2 separate regions of the Homo sapiens genome follow, and region 1 is linked to region 2. Evidence: promoter capture Hi-C in 16 types of primary human blood cells and fetal thymus (Javierre and others, 2016). All regions are on one chromosome and are shown on one strand. Each heading gives the region's core, a stretch centred on a gene start or on the middle of the fragment in contact. The rest is flanking DNA. Distances are from core to core; before and after follow the strand shown. Region 1 holds the start of HNF4A (hepatocyte nuclear factor 4 alpha). Region 2 holds the start of LINC01620 (long intergenic non-protein coding RNA 1620).

What was found. The method cuts DNA at HindIII sites, captures the fragments that hold promoters and counts their contacts. A CHiCAGO score of 5 or more calls a contact.
Region 1: a contact is called between the fragment with the promoter of HNF4A here and the fragment with the promoter of LINC01620 in region 2, in 2 of 17 cell types (M2 macrophages and megakaryocytes). The highest score is 6.0, in M2 macrophages.

What each region holds. Positions count from the first base shown.
Region 1 is chr20:44,354,076-44,357,324 of GRCh38, forward strand. HNF4A (hepatocyte nuclear factor 4 alpha) reads left to right here and starts at 1,624. Exons shown (of 10, transcript NM_175914.5): 1 at 1,624-1,778. The coding sequence starts at 1,730. R3HDML-AS1 (R3HDML antisense RNA 1) reads right to left here and starts at 1,167. Exons shown (of 4, transcript NR_184036.1): 1 at 944-1,167. It overlaps HNF4A-AS1 (HNF4A antisense RNA 1), which reads right to left. Exons shown (of 3, transcript NR_172878.1): 3 at 2,669-3,249. The HindIII fragment of the contact is 34,205 bases long and covers 1-3,249 here.
Region 2 is chr20:44,464,032-44,466,873 of GRCh38, forward strand. It overlaps LINC01620 (long intergenic non-protein coding RNA 1620), which reads right to left and starts at 1,313. Exons shown (of 3, transcript NR_132343.1): 1 at 1,134-1,313. It also overlaps the pseudogene RPL37AP1. The HindIII fragment of the contact is 2,937 bases long and covers 1-1,640 here.

The DNA of each region.
Region 1 (3,249 bases), core at 374-2,873, 110 kb before region 2:
TGGGATTACAGGCATGAGCCACTACACCCGACCAAGAATATTAATACTTTTTTTTAAAAAATATCGAAGTTATTTATTTATTTATTTATTTATTTATTTATTTATTTATTTTGAGATGGAGTCTCTCTCTGTTGCCCAGGCTGGAGTGCAGTGGCACGATCTTGGCTCACTGCAACCTCTGTCCCCCTGGTTCAAACGATTCTCTTGCCTCAGCCTCCCGTTTGCCACCATGCCCGGCTAATTTTTTTATTTTTGGTAGAGACGGGGTTTCACCATGTTGGTCAGGCTGGCCTCAAACTCCTGACCTCGTGATCGGTGCGCCTCGGCCTCCCAAAATGCTGGGGTTACAGGCGTGAGCCACTGCACCCGGCCCCAAAATCTAACGTTTGTTATCACTGTTGTTTTAGAAAAGAAAGGACATTTTAATGCAACCCATGCCCATCTGTAGGGGCTGAAGGTCCCTCTGAGGTGATTGATAAAGCTGAAAAAAGAGACTATGGGAAGAGAAGAGGAATATTATCAATTAGCTATTTTAGAAGCAGGGCAAACTATGAGCTAGGTATTCCTATAAGGAAATGAAATAATTTACTAAAAAACATACAGCAAGAAAATAATAGAGCTGGAGTTTTCTGATTTTTCTGAGTCCAGAATTTGTTTCACTGTTCTCATTTCAGCTCTCTCTAACAGGATGAATGACCTTGATTTCAGAATCCCCAAGCAGGTGGTGAGATCCAAAACTGAGACAAAAGAAACGGGGCTGTTCCAAAAAAAAAGCTAGGTGGCAGGTGTCTAACATGCCAGGGAGCTAAAACAGAGTGTGTGAGTTTCAGCAGCAGGTTGAATTTAGAATGGGGAAGGAGACCAGAGGAGACGCCAGACAGGATGACTTTGTCCCATTGGCCTGGAGGCAGCCCCATGTTTCTCCACCCCTCATATCACTCACCAGTTTGTAATAGTATCTTTGAATGACGATCTGATTAAGGTCCGTCTCCTCCATTAGTCCACAAGTTTCGGGGGTACATCTACTTTGCTCATTTCCATATCCCCAGAGTCTAGCACAAGGCCTGGTACATAGTAGGTGCTCAATAAATATGTTAGATGAAAGGAAGATAACACCTCTATGTACTAGCAGTGAGACTCCAGGCATGCAATTTCTCTCTGTCCTTCAGTCCCTTCATCTCAAGGTTTAATTTAAATATGGTAACGCCTGTATGCAACTCCCAGCATCCAGTAGGCACTCACTAAACACAGTTCTCCACCCTCCTTTTTTCCTCTGCCCCTCCCTCGGTTTTCCCACTACTTCCTGCATGGTGACACACCCATAGTTTGGAGCCATAAAACCCAACCCAGGTTGGACTCTCACCTCTCCAGCCCCTTCTGCTCCGGCCCTGTCCTCAAATTGGGGGGCTGATGTCCCCATACACCTGGCTCTGGGTTCCCCTAACCCCAGAGTGCAGGACTAGGACCCGAGTGGACCTCAGGTCTGGCCAGGTCGCCATTGCCATGGAGACAGCAACAGTCCCCAGCCGCGGGTTCCCTAAGTGACTGGTTACTCTTTAACGTATCCACCCACCTTGGGTGATTAGAAGAATCAATAAGATAACCGGGCGGTGGCAGCTGGCCGCACTCACCGCCTTCCTGGTGGACGGGCTCCTGGTGGCTGTGCTGCTGCTGTGAGCGGGCCCCTGCTCCTCCATGCCCCCAGCTCTCCGGCTGGGTGGGCTTGGCCATGGTCAGCGTGAACGCGCCCCTCGGGGCTCCAGTGGAGAGTTCTTACGGTAAGTGGGGCTGGGGGAAGACTGGACAGGGCGGGACTGCGGTCAGCTTTGGGAGGCCATGGGACACCTCCCCGTGTGTTTCTTACGGGCCCAAAGCTCCTCCTGGAGCTCCTCTGGAAGGGCAGGAAGCCCCACGGAGGCAATGTGACCGCTTCCCTAAGCTCTCAAGCCGGGGCATGGCCTGCTTGGTGCGAGAAGTGCTGGGAGGGGCCGAGAAGCCCTGGGGCAGAGGCTTGGCTCATTTTGTCTGTCCAGAGGCCTTCCTGGGAATGCATCTCAGGGGTCTTTCCAAAACCCCACAGAGGGTGGGGCTTGGAAGCACCGTCCTGTTTCGATGCGGGGCAAATTGAGGTCCACCAGGAGAGGCTTGCTGGGCCTAGGTCACGTTGCTGGTGCATTATCAAGCTGGGCGTGGGACCGGGCAGCTCGGTCGCTCCGCACCTCCGTTGGCTCTGGATAATGGGGAGGAGGTAGAAAGCGCCGCGCAGGGTGGAGCGTTGGAAAATGAGAATATCTTGTGCGGACGTGTGAAACTCAGATGCAGGGCTAGAAAGCATGTGTTACTGAGAGTGAAAGGCTCAGGCTCACTCCTTAGGGTGACCCCCACATTGGAAGCAACCCAATGTCCCTCAGCAGAGGGAAGACGGGTAAATAAAGCGTGAGACGTCTTTACAGTGGAATGCTATCCCATTGTTCAAGGAAACAACGCACATCTGTGTGTGACAGGGAAGAACCTCTCAGTTAAATTAAGTGAAAACGGTACACTGAAGAACTGTGTAGTTGCTGATAGCGAAACGGATATAGATGTATATATGTACACACGCGTATACGTGTACATTCCACGCATAGAAAATTCGTGGAATGACACAATAAAATTGGTGACAGGTTTGTTTCTGAGGAGGGAAATTCAAGAGAATGTTTTATCTTTTGGGGACACATTTTGGATTTTTTAAAAGTTGGGTGCCTTTTATAAACCTGTTCAAATCACACACCCGCACAGAACTTGGTCTCTGGAATCCAGCAGACCTCGGGGTCTAGTTGTGACTCTGTCACACGGCTCAACATTCACGTGCCTCTTGCTTTCTTTCTGAAGTGGAGACAGGACTAGGATGTGTCTTAAGATCATGGTGGATGCCGTGGGGAACAAGGATGTAAAGCCCTTGATACCACGTGCATTGCAAAGACACAATCAACATTTATGTCATCAATTGCTGAGGACAGAGGGCCAGGGAATGACAGAATCAGGGCCTGATCTCCTGACTCTAGTCAGGAAGAATCTTCTTTGCTTTGACCCCCATCAAACAGGAATATGTGATGCACTGGAAATGGCAGAGGCTGAAGAAACCAACAGCCTGGGAACCCATCCCACACACCAGCTGTGTGACCTTGGGCAAGACATTTCCCCTCTCTGAACCTATTTCCTCATCTGTAAAATGAAGATAACAACAGGACCTATCTCCCAGAGAGCGGG
Region 2 (2,842 bases), core at 63-2,562:
GGGCATGGTGGTGTGCACCTGTAGTCCCAGCTACTCGGGAGGCTGAGGCAGGAGAATCACATGAACCCGGGAGGCGGAGGTTGCAGTGAGTCAAGATCGTGCCACTGTACTCCAGCCTGGCAACAGAGCGAGACTCCATCTCAAAAAAGAAAGGAGATAATTACATCAGTTTTGAAAGGTAGTGAAGACAGAGTGAACTAGCACATAAGCACATATGCAGCACATAGAACAGGGACTGGGACATAGTAGGGGTTCCATAAACGGTGGGTTTTTGTTGTTGTTGTTGTTTTTGAGATGGAGTCTCGTGCAGTGTTGCAATCTCAGCTCACTGCAACCTCCGCCTCCCAGGTTCAAGTGATTCTCCTGCCTCAGCCTCCCAAGTAGCTGGGATTACAGGCACGCACCACCATGCCTGGCTAATTTTTGTATTTTTAGTGGAGACAAGGTTTCACCATGTTAGCCAGGCTGGTCTCGAACTCCTGACGTCAGGTGATCCACCTGCTTCGGCCTCCCAAAGTGCTGGATTACAGGTGTGAGCCACCAGCCTGGCCAAGGGTGATTATTTTATTACAATTGAACCACAGCCATCCTATGATCTGGCCACTTACCCCAGGATACAGCATCCTCAACTAGATGGCAAAAAGCCACTTCCTTTGCACTTAGTCAGTGCTGTTAGCCTGGAGGAATAACAATGGCACCATCGATTGTGCCAGGCACTATCCTAGGTGCTTTTGTATGTTGAATCCTTGCAAAGCCCTGTGAGGTGGGTCAGTGTTTGCCTTCTGTATGACAGATGAGAAAACTGGGATGTAGTAACTAGTCATTGGCCAAGGTCACACAGCAGTGAAGTAATGGTGCTGTGATTTGAATCTATGTAGTTTGATTTAGGATCTAGAAGTTTCGCTAATGGATTACCTAGCTCAGAACTAGTGAAAGAGCCCAGTCACAAAAGCACCTCCTGATGCCCAAAATCATTTTCAGCTCCTCAGACACAGAGCCTGAAGCAAAGATTAGGTACTGTGTGATTTATAAAGGAAAGAACCTGTAAGGGATGAAGGGAAGCAAGACAGGGAGGGAAACAAGAAAAGATGTGGTCTCAGGTAAAGTCTAGCAAAAAGGCTGGCTTTGTGTACCTCTGTACGAGTCAGCTGTTGGCTGCCAGCCACCCTGTGGGTGAGGGGAATAAACTCCAGGGTGAGGTGATTCCTGAGATGGCAGTTCTCCGTAGAAATGGAAATAGTAAGCCATTCGAAGCCAACAACTGAAGCATCTGGGGGGATGGTGTTGGTGTGCTAGCCCATGAAGGGCTCAAGAGGTTCCCAGAGGCACACTTCTTGCCTGCCTAATGAATCAAGTTCTAGAACATTCTGGAACATTCACTTCCTAGACTTGTTTTGGAGAATCCTCCTTCTCACTGAGACCAGCATGTTGAACAAACCCAGCCTGTGACATAATCAAAGCATACCTTAATTTGTATCTCCCAGTGTCCTTTCTAAGATGTATTTGGTAGAGAAACATTTTCCCTGCCACTGGGTGAAATCTCCCCATTATTCTTCTGCTTGTTCTGAGGAAACAGGCAATTCTATGGTCACTTTAGGTCACAAACACAACCTCAATTTAGAAATGAGAATGTCCAGTCAAGCTTCTAACCAAAATTCCCAATTTGATTTGGGTTTAAACCTTCTCCCCTCACCCTCAGGCCTGCTTCAGGGAGGTGGTGTGGGTGACTCCTTCTCTATCTCTCCTTCCCTCACCCACCCGTGGGGTACAGTGGGGGGTGTTGGAGATGGCAAGGGGAGAGGAAGGGTCTCCCTTGAGCTGCCACCATCCTGGCTGGCTTCAAGCTGCCCCTTTCTGTCGTGGGCTCCATGGAGATGGCCACTGTCACAGGGGCCCTCTCACTCTTAACCTTGGGGGATGCATCTCTCCTCATAGGGGTCCCTTGCAAGTCCTTCGTCAGCCCTTAGGAACCCAACATCCAACTCAAGCTTCTTGCTGCTGCCACACCTCTGCCCCTCCAGGAGGCTCTAGGGGACAGGACCCAAGAGGACCCCTTGTAGGTGCTCTCTGCCAACACTGGCCCATGGGAAACACTCCAGCCAGCAGCCTGTACTCCGAAAGTCCTGGGAATGTGGCTTACCTTAGCACGCCCACACTGGCTCCTTCACCAGTTCAGCCAGGCAGCCCGTTTCTCTCAGCCTCTAGATGTCCATGCCCACATGAGACCACTGGGCCCCCTCATAATGGCCACACATTATTCTCTACATATAGTGGCCCCTCTCATGGAAGAGCCCCCATGACCCCATTCCACCCTTCCAGGGAGATGGTCACCAAAGAACTCTTTGCTTCCTCTTCCCATCCTAGGAGAATGTGGTGGGTATAGGGGTAATAGTAAATGTGGGGGTTTTGGGTAGCCATGGCCAAATTTTAGCAGCTGTGGGTTTGGACTGGGCTCTTTTTTGTTGTTGTTGTTGTTACGTAAATTAACCCATTTATTACAGGCCAGTGATGTCTCAAAGAGTAGAGGAGCGTCTACTGGTCTTTCAACTCCTTCAGGCTTCTGATGGCGGACTTTACCGTGATAGCGGAGGTGGTATTGTATGTCCAGGCACCGCCAGCCACTGTCTTCACGCGGGAACCACAGTGCCAGATCCCCGCAGCTCATCTCTTCATCTTGGTTTTGCCACAGAAAGAGCAAGTGTACTTGGCCTGCTGGCTGATTTCAACTTTCTTCACCATTTTCCAGAGGGAGGCCCCATAGCGGGTCCCGTATTTACCGACGATCCCGACTTTCTTGGTAGGTTTGGCCATGTCACCGCGAACTAGGTCCGAGCCCAGAGAG